Regions from separate parts of the Homo sapiens genome. Here region 1 is linked to region 2. Evidence: promoter capture Hi-C in human tissues and cell types (Jung and others, 2019). All regions are on one chromosome and are shown on one strand. Each heading gives the region's core, a stretch centred on a gene start or on the middle of the fragment in contact. The rest is flanking DNA. Distances are from core to core; before and after follow the strand shown.

Region 1 (5,702 bases), core at 728-3,227, 240 kb before region 2:
TGTTGTTTTTAAGCTACTCAGCTTATCATATTTTGTTATAGCAGCACAGACTGAGATACTATTCATGAACATGGACTATCTCTCCATTTATTTAATTATTCTTTGATATCTTTCATCAAGTTTTCCTCATATAGATCTTGTACATACTTTCTTAGATTTCAACCCAAGTATTTTATTTTTGAAGGTGTTAATGTAAATGGCATTATGTTTTTAATTTCAAATTCTACTTGTTCATTACTGATATATAGGAAAGTGATTGATTTTTATATATTAGCCTTGTATCCTACAACCTTGCTATAATTGCTTATTAGTTCTAGGAGTCATTTTGTCTACTCTTTTGAATTTTCTGTATAATCATGTCATTTTTTAACAAAACCAGTTTTACTTATTCCTTCCCAATCTGCATACTTTTGATTTTATTTTCTCCTCTTGTTGCTAGGACTTTCAGCACAATGTTGAAAGGCAGCATTGAGAGAGAACAGCCTTGCCTTGTTCCTAATCATAGGAGCAAAGCTTCCAATTTGTCACCATTAAGTATGATGTTAGCTGTAGGTTTTTTGTAGATGTTTTTTATTGAGTTGAGGAAGTTCCCCTCTATTCCTAGTCTGTCGCAGGTACCTTATTTTTTTCTTTTACAATATAGTTTGGAGAACATTCTATCATAGACATTAAGAGCAGTCATTATTATTATTGCTTTCTACAGATGCATAGCATAGTATTTTATTGCATGGATATATTATAGTTTATTTAACCTGACCCCTATTAACGGTTATTTAGGTTGTTTGCATATCTTATATTGGCACAAACAGTGCTGCAAATGTCCATCTTCTGGCAAGTGAATAAATACACTGTGATATATGCACACAAAATAATTCTGCTCAGCAATACAAAGGAATGAACCAATGATACGTTCAACAACATGAATAAATCTCAAAAGCATTACACTGAGAAAAAAAAACAGACACAAAAGACTACATACTCTTTTATTACATTTGTATTAAATTCTTGAAAAGGCAAATCTATATGGACAGAAATCAGAGCTACATTTGCCAGGGGACAGGGAATGGGATTAACCATAAAGGCAGAGAGGGAAGTTTTGTGAATGATTGTGGAGATGGTTATACCTGTGGTGATAGTTTATATCTATCACAGCTCATTGAATTTTTTACTTTTAAAAAGTGACTTTTATTGTATATAGATTTTATTTCAATAAAGTTGATTTTAAAGAAAAAGTAACTGCCAAATGATTTAACCCATGAACTAAAAGATCACAAATATGGTAACCAAAGTTTGAAAGGTGAAATATATTTGAAGGACTGAGAGTTAGAGATCCTGGACAATCTTATCCTTCTTTTTGACCACTATCATGTTGTTATTACATTACCGGCAGAACACGTAATAAAAGTAAGATGAAAAGATCAAGCATTCACTGTATTTTTCTTTTTATTTTTTTAGAGACAAGGTTTTTGCTCTGTTGCCCAAGCTGGAGGACAATGGCACTATCATAGCTCACTATAATCTCAAGCTCCTGGGCTCAAAAAAAATCTTCCCAACTAAACCTCTCCCTAGGAATTATAGGCACCCACCATCACACCCTATCACACCCAGCTAATTTTTTATTTTTTGTAGAGACTGGGTCTCGCAGTGTCACCCAGGCTGGTTTCAAGCAATCCTCCTGCCTCAGTCTCCCACAGTGCTGGGATCACAGGCGTGGGCCCCTGGGCCCAGCCCAGGATTTTAACTAATTACAGAAAATTATTCCCGTGTCTGGATCAATAACTATGCCTCTTTAATTTATGAAATATTCATTTTACTAACAAATCACTAGAAAAACCTCCAAAGTCACCGAAATTGAGCTGAATTTCATCTTTCCGTTCTACTCCCACTAGAAACCCTCTTATCATTTAATTATTTACTAATTAACTCCCCATTCCCTCCTACTTCCAAAGGATCTCAAACAACTTCATAAATAAGTGAGGCAAGTATAATAATGGGAAAAAAGTTAAAGCATAGATAAATAAATGCAGGGTAGAGAGCCTAAATAATGACTAGAAGTGGCTACAAATTTTGCTCCAAGTTTCTAATTGGCCTCCCAAAAGAGGAAAACATGTATTCTATGTGTTTGATATACTTATAAACATCAAAGTTTCTATGAAATAAAGAAAAATCTAAGTGTTAAGGAAATGCAACATTTATTTTTGATATGATGACCAGTGTGACAATTTTCCCATGGATCTTTCAATAGAGGAAATTGCATAACATAGTGAATGTCTTCAATGGCACATTGGAAAAGCCATGATAGTGAGATTTCTGAGGCACCCTTAGAGCCACAGAGAAAGCCAAGAACAGAATGCCACTCTAGGAAAGAGAACCTGGTGGCTGGAGGACAAAGGTGGCAGATAAGAGTTACTTCATTGTACACATACCCTTTTGCAGCTTTTGAGCAGTGGACACCCCATACATATTACCAAACAGTGCTTAATTGTACAGACTGGGGAAGCAGGCTCCCTGGTTCAAATCACAGCTGTACAAACTACCAGTTACAGTATAGTGGGCAAGCTCTGTGCCTTATCTCTGAAGTGGGGATTGCAGAATATCTGCCTCATTCGATCACTGGAAAGGTTAAATGTGTTAATATGTAAAAGAACCTTAGTATCAGGTTAAGTGGTAGTTATTACTAATGATAATGCCAAAGTACAGTTTTGTAAAAGTTGTCTTATGAAGGACCAAAGCAATGTTACTCTATGTATAAAGCTCCATGATAATCAGATTTTAGATACCAGCATAAATTTAGAATATCTGACACACATGAAAATCAGTTGTCATGCCCATGGGGTTTATATAGCGAACAGACCCAATTTTGGGTTTTGTTACCTGTTTTAAAAGGCAATGCACAGGCTGGGCACAGTGGCTCACGCCTGTAATCCCAGCACTCTGGGAAGCCAGGGCGGGTGGATCACAAGGTCAGGAGATCGAGACCATCCTGGCTAACAGAGAAACCCCGTCTCTACTAAAAATATAAAAAATTAGCCGGGTGTGGTGGCACACGCCTGTGGTCTCAGCTACTCGGGAGTCTGTGGCAGGAAAATCACTTGAACCCAGGAGGCGGAGGTTGCAGTGAGCTGAGATCATGCCACTGCACTCCAGCCTGGCGACAGAGTGAGACTCCATCTCAAAAAAAAAAAGGCAATGCACTACAAAGCATTATTGGAAGAAACTGAAGACTATCTCGGTAAATAAAAAGACATCCCATGTTCATGGATTAGAAGGCATAAGCTGTAAGGCTGGGCACGGTGGCTCATGCCTGTAATCCCAGCACTTTGAGAGTTCAAGGCAGGTGGATCACCTGAGGTCAGGAGTTCAAGACCAGCCTGGCCAGCATGGTGAAACCCTGTCTCTACTAAAAATACAAAAATTAGCTGGGCATGGTGCCAGGTGCCTGTAATCCCAGCTACTTGGGAAGCTGAGGCAGGGAGAATTACCTGAACCTGGGAGGCAGAGGTTGCAGTGGGCCAAGATCGCGCCACTGCACTCTAGCCTGGGTGACAGAACAAGACTCTGTCTCAAAAAAAAAAAAAAGCAGGTTTAAGCTGTTAAGTTGGCAATACTCCCCAAACTGATCTACAAATTCAATGAAATCCTTATCAAAAGCCCAGCTTTCTTTGTTTCAGAAACTTATAAACTGACCCTAAAATTCATATGGAAATGCAAATTACCCAGAATAGCCAAAACAATCTTGAAAAAGAAGAAAAAATTTTTTAAGATTTTATTTTTATTTATTTATTTAAAAAAATTTTTTTTGAAATGGGGTCTTGCTCTGTCACCCAGGCTGGAGTGCAGTGGCACGATCTCGGCTCACTGCAACCTCTGCCTCCTGGGTTCAGTGATTCTCTTCTTGCCTCAGCCTCCAGAGTAGCCACCACACCCGGCTAATTTTTATATTTTTAGTAGCGACGGTGTTTCGCCATTTTGGCAGGCTGGTCTCAAACTCCTGACCTCAGGTTATCCACCCATCTCAGCCTCCCAAAATGCTAGGATTACAGGTGTGAACCACGGTGCCCGGCCCTCAGAAGAACAAAATTCGTTCACATTTCCAAATTTCAAAGTTACTAGAAAGCTACAGAAATCAAGATGGTGTGGAACTAACATTAGGATTGACATATAAATCAATGAAATAGAATTGATTCCAGAAATTGAATTTAGTCACATTTATGATCAATTGATTTTTCATAATCGTGCCAAGACAATTCAGTGGGAAAAGAATAGTCTTTTCAACAGATGGTATTGGAACAACTCAATGTTCACACACAAAAGAAAAAACCTGAACTCCTACTTCACAACATAAAAAACTTAACAAAAATTAACTCAAAATGGACTATGGACATAATTTTAAAAGCTAAAACTACAAAACTCCTGAAGAAAACATAGGAGTAAATCTTCATGACTTTTGGTTAGGCAATAGTTTCCTAGGTATGACACCAAAAACAGAAGCAACAGAAGAAAAATAAATTGGACTATATCAAAATTTAAAACTTCTATGCTACAAACAATACTACCAAGAATATGAAAAGTTAACTCGCAGAATGAGAGAATATATTTGCAAATCATATAGCTGATAAAAGATTTGCGTCTAGACAAAGAAATTTTACAACTCAATAACAAAGTAAACCCAATTAAAAAGTGAGCAAAGGGTTTGAATAGACATTTCTCCAAAGAAGTTGTACACATGGTTAGTAAGCACATGAAAAGATAATCAATATCAAAAGTCACTAGAGAAATGCAAATAAGAATCACAACGAGATATCACTTCAGACAACAACAAATGTTGGCTAAGAAACGAAGAAATTTGAACCATCATACATTGCTGGTGGAAATGAAAAATGATACAGATGTTCTGGAAAACAGTCTGGCAGTTCCTAAAATGTTAAACATAGAATTACCACATGATCTAGCAATTCTACTCTTTGTATATATTTAGGAAAAAAAATATGTCAATGCAAAAATTTGAACACAAATGTTCACAGCAGCATTATTCATACCAGCCAGAGTGGAAACTACCCAAATGTCCACCAACATGTTCATCCATAATGAATGGATAAACAAAATGTGGTATACCCATAATGAAATATTATTTGGCAATAAAAAAGAAATGAATTTTTTTTTTCACAACAAAGACCACGCCATTTATTTACAAAGGCCAGTGTGGGAGCTGGGGGAGGCAGGGAGGGAAAGCCACACAGACATCTTCTCTGGACTGCTTGGGACCCTTTCCCACTTGGAGCAAACTCTGTTCCTCTTGCCGTCATATTCTCAGCCATGGGGTCGGTCCTCCAAGCAGCTGGGCCAAGTAGGAGAGGGAAGAGGTGATATGAGCCTCCTCTGTGCTCTGACAGAGCAATGTCCAATTCCAGATCAAAGGCATCATTGCCACCCTCTCCTCTCCTTCCTCAAAGAAAACTTTCTGGCCTGGAGGGAAATAGTTAAGAACTGAAAGGCCAGGGGCTCTGGAGGAAAAAAACCCTCTACTATTCCCACAAGGCAGTGAGGGGTGATAAGGGTGCTAGTCACAGCCCTGACAGCTTCAGAAAGGGTACCCACATTACCTCTGGGTTACCCAGCATCCAGAGCTCCAAGGGACCTAGCTCTCCCAGATATATATTCCTGCAATGGACTGACCTTTTTACCCACTTGTCTCTGGTGGT
Region 2 (5,007 bases), core at 1,897-4,396:
TTTCCTATCTTCCTATGTATCTTTTATTTACTCATTTAAACTTATTCAGAAATATTTATTTAGTGTCTCCTATATTCTAGGTACTAGTGACCAAGCACTAGTACTTGCATATGCATATACTAGTACTCTCAATGCATATTTTCCTGTTCATCATCCCAGACCTTCAAGATCAACATTCAGCTTAAACTCGATTCTTTACCTAAAATTCATATTACACTCTTTCACATCTTATTCTTCAGCCCATTTATTTCCACTCCTTTTTAGTCATCATACGATAAGAAGTGCCAACCATGTCTTGTGATACTCCATCATCCTTCACTGACTGGGCTAAACATGCTGCAAATCTGGGACAAAGAAGGGACCAAAAGGTTGCTATCTGCACACATCTATGCAAAAAGTTTAGCATAGTATTGGCAAAATTGCTGAAGCTGTATTCAAAATTCACTGGTAAGATATATGGGGGAAAAAAATCACAGAGAAAGCAGTCCCACCTAGAGTTTGCAAAACTGTAGCATATTGTTGAAGCCAGAGGAGATGTTAAAGTCACAGGACAATAACAAAAAGAGAGGTGGACTTTGCAACTAGAAGATGCTCCATTTTTCCTTTTAAGGAGCCTTAAGTATCTCTATTAAGTATACTTTTTAAGTAACTGATATGGTTTGGCTGTGTCCCCACCCAAATCTCACCTTGAATTGTAATAATCCCCACATGTCAAGGGAGGGGGCCAGGTGGAGGTAACTGAATCATGGATGTGGTTTCCCCCATATTGTTCTCATGGTAGTGAATAAGTCTCATGAGATCTGATGGTTTTATAAATGAGAGTTCCCCTGCACAAGCTCTTTCTTGGCTGCTGCCATGTAAGACGTGCCTTTGCTCCTCCTTTGCCTTCTGCCATGATTGTGAGGCCTTCCCAGCCATGTGGAACTGTAAGTTCATTAAACCTCTTTTTCTTTATAAATTACCCAGTCTTGAGTATGTCTTTATTAGCAGTGTAAGAACAGACTAATACAGTAAATTGGTACCTGGAGTGGGGCACTACTGTAAAGGTACCCAAAAATGTGAAAGTGACTTTGGAATTGGGTAGCAGGCAGAGGCTGGAATAGTTTGGAGGGCTCAGAAGAAGATAGCAAGATGTGGGAAAGTTTGGAACTTCCTAGAGACTTGGAGGGCTCAGATGACAGGAAGGTATGGGAAAGTTTGCAATGTAAGACATGCCTTTGCTCCTCCTTTGCCTTCCACCATGATTGTGAGGCCTCCCCAGTCATGTGGAACTGTGAGTCCATTAAACCTCTTTTTCTTTATAAATTACTCAGTCTTGAGTATGTCTCTATTAGCAGCATAAGAAGAGACTAATATAGTCACAATGGGGTAAACAGGCTTATACTCATTGGGTAGCTTCCCTGGCACAGACAGGCCACAGGAGTAATTAAAAACAAAGGAATTTCCTCCGCCCCCATTCACCAAATTCTAAACAAACTCCTTCACTCTTCTACTCCCTGATTTTTAGAATTAAAGATTTTTTTTTGAAGCATATTCAGGGCAATGTCTTGCACTTAGTTTATGCCTGATAAAGCTGATTTGATTTTTGATCACGAACAATGGCAGAGTGGTGGTGAGTGGGGGCATAGAGAAGGATAGTATTTTTATTTTTTTAATGTGTCTGACTTTTTCCTTGGAAATAAAAACCACATATAATTTATATTATATTTAATCAAGAAAATACTGAATCCATGCAAAATAATGTTTCTGGTGAAGCTGTAAAAATATGTCATATTCCTTAGAAGATAATACCACCTTAAAACCAGGTTAAAAAAGAAATAATTACAAGATGTATTAGTTTTATTTACAACCACTTATCTTCAGGTCAGAAACTTTCTTTATTGTATATTATTAAATTCATAATATAATAATTGGATATTAGTATCTGTTATGTATTTATTTTTATGGTGAAAAATTTCAACTTTACATAATGTTAAAGAAAATAGTATATACTCATCAATAAGATTCAATAATTACAAACTTCGGCATCCTTATTTAGCTGTTTTTTAAAGATATAATCTTGGCAGCTGATGGTCATTGGGCTTGTTTGTGTTTTATTACCACTGAAATACATTTTAATGTAGTGAATATTGATTTTGAATTCCAAGTTCCCATTTGGTGGTTAATGTTTAATTAACATCATTAAAAGTGAAGACCTCAGTATAGATAAACTTCTGTACAAAAAACTTCAAGGAGAACTAAACTTTTTGTTTTACTGTGTAGTGAATATTGCTTTCAATAAGGGGATTTTCCAACTGAAAAATGAAGACATTTAAGTTACATGGAGCTTTTTGAGGACCATCCTAATAAGTACCTGACATTTTTTTATGCACATATGTGCCAAGCATTGTACTAAGAGCTTTACATGCACCCGCTCTTTAAATAACCCTATGAGCTATGCTTATTATCCTCATTTTACAAATTAGGACCCTGAAGCTGTGAAAGATTAACCTACTTAACTGTCTGGAGTCTCTCAATAAATATCAGGCAGGATCTTATTTGCTAAAATTGTATTTTATTTCTATAAGTGATGTTTTGAAAGATATAAAAAAATTTTATGCCTATCATGAATAACCATTAAATGGTGCAATAAACATAACATTGTATACAGTAATTGTTTAAATGAAAGAACTTCTGCATAAACACATAAAAAGACAGATTCCTAATCGGAGATGCAGTTACGACCATGGGAGGTAGTAAGATGTGAACACAGATCCCCAGGAACAACAGGAAAGAAGCAGGGTAGTCCACCAAATAAAAAATATACAGGAATATAAAGGAGATTGATTCAAGTGTCTTGGGTTTCAAGCCCACATTTTGCAGTTTCTGTATATAAGAAATTTTAAAAATATTTCATCTTATTGGCTCTATCCTTTAAAAATAACTTAAAATTTTGGTCTATAAACAATAAAAATAGTGACTTACGTGTCAACAGAAATAAGTTTCTTTTCCCCATGGTCAGAGGCATAATCCCAAGTCGTTTCAATAATTCCAATGTAATAATGCTTTTCTTTCGCCCAGGCTGGGGTACTACATAAAAACAGAAAAATACCAAGTATCAAAATCTTCATTTTTTTCCCCTTCTTGGAGCCTGAGAAGAAATGAAGTAAAATCAGGAGCAGGCAATTTTATAAATAAGACTTTCTTCCTTATTTGCTTGATTGACACAATTTAGTGTTGCACAAGAGTAAATTGTTTCATTAAAGCAAATATTTTCCAATTCAGTTAAGTTCTCGTAAACCACCAAAAAAACAGTTCTTGGTTGCCAGGCTTCTCTGACTGAAAATAAAAAGTCAACAGTTATTGTTGGAGGCATTAGGGTGTGCATAACTCTGTGCCTTTTTCCATTCATTGTGTAAATTCCAGGAGGGCAGAGAACGTGTCTAAATGCTCCCTTTGTTCCTCTGACAATATGTCACAGCACAGTGTCCTGCAAACAGTGCACTTTTAGTAAATCAGGATAAGAATTATGTAAAATGAATCAAAACATGTAGCTTTTTACTACAGTCATTCTTAATGACAGGGATACGTTCTGAGAAATGCATTGTTAGGCTATTTTGTCATTGTGTGACTATCACAGAGTGTACTTACACAGACTTATATGATATAGCCTACTATACATCTAGGTAGGCTATATGGTATACCTATTGCTCCTAGGCTACAAACCTGTACAGTCTATAACTATGCTGAATGCTATAGACAATTGTAACACAATGATATTTCTGTATCTATACATATGCAAACATAGAAAATGTACAGTAAAAATATGTTATTATAATCTTATGGGACCACCATCACATATGCAGTTTGTCATTTACTCAAACATTATTATGTGGTGCATGACTATTTCTAAAAGTCTAACAAATGATTAATTGCAGCTTTATGATATGAAACATGATATCTAGCATGCCAAATTTAAGTAAACAAAAATAAGAATTTAATTTGGAAGAATTTATCTGTTTTATGAGCTTGGACCAAATCTGCATAAAAACTTTACCAGATCATTCTGTATTGCTATATGCAAATAACTAGCAGAGCCTAACAGGGGCTAATAACTTTGTTTTAATCATCAAATAAACAAACCATAACTAAACCTGTCTTCAGAGGCAAAGATTAGTCTTAGTAAATAGAAAGTACCCCAGTTTATCATTAGACTGAAATTTTTCTCTTTGAAGTGGATATGAATTTTAAGGTGGAAGACTTTTTCTTAAAACCCTGTTTTTAGTCAGGAAGTATATGTCTAAAAGTATGAAATGGCTTTTTTTTTTAGCTGAAGAAAATCCTGATAACAGTTGACACTTTGTGTTAGTATAATTTTTTTTCTCTCAAATACCTCAAAACGTTGTGTATTTGCTGAAGGCCACTTGTTGAAATAGATTGGTATAGAAGAAAGCATGCGATATTTGAACAATTCCTTCATTTAGGAAATATTATTGAATGAGCCAAGTTCTGTTCTACTCACTGGGAATACAGCAGTCTGTGCCAAGTTCTGTTCTACTCACTGGGAATACCGCAGAGAACAAAACACCTACCATCATGCAACTTACATTCTACTTGGGGAAACTGAAAATATAAAAATGAAAAATGAAATACACAATATTAGTGGTGAATGCTATGGAGAAAAATAAAGCAGAGAAGGAGAATAAGGAGTGCTAGGGAAAAATCTGATGCTACCAAATGACCTCAAGTAAGATACTTCAGCCCAGCTTCAGTTTCCTCATCTGAAAATCTCAGGTTAATTGAAATGACCTATGTTAAGGCAGACAGTGGAGGAGCTTCTCTCACCAGCTGGTAATAATCTTAACTAAATGGCTTGGTACAGAAAACTGAATCATGTTGCCCAGGATGCCCCAAGGCCTCCTTCTAGGACTGCCTTGAACAATTGTGCCGTCATGTCCACTGAGAGGACTGACGAAGGACTAAAATCTTGCTCAGATGCCACCGGCCATACCCTGTGCCTTGCAAGAA

Evidence for each region. Contacts are between HindIII fragments. The study calls those that stand out against the background at their distance.
Region 1: a contact is called between a fragment that was not itself captured here and the fragment with the promoter of CP in region 2, in 1 of the 25 tissues and cell types used here (spleen).

What each region holds. Positions count from the first base shown.
Region 1 is chr3:148,979,021-148,984,722 of GRCh38, forward strand. It overlaps the pseudogene UBQLN4P1. Among named protein-coding and RNA genes, the nearest start is that of GYG1, 9.7 kb to the right of the region's middle. The HindIII fragment of the contact is 7,031 bases long and covers 1-5,493 here.
Region 2 is chr3:149,218,683-149,223,689 of GRCh38, forward strand. CP (ceruloplasmin) reads right to left here and starts at 3,147. Exons shown (of 19, transcript NM_000096.4): 1 at 2,965-3,147. The coding sequence starts at 3,110. The HindIII fragment of the contact is 15,133 bases long and covers 1-5,007 here.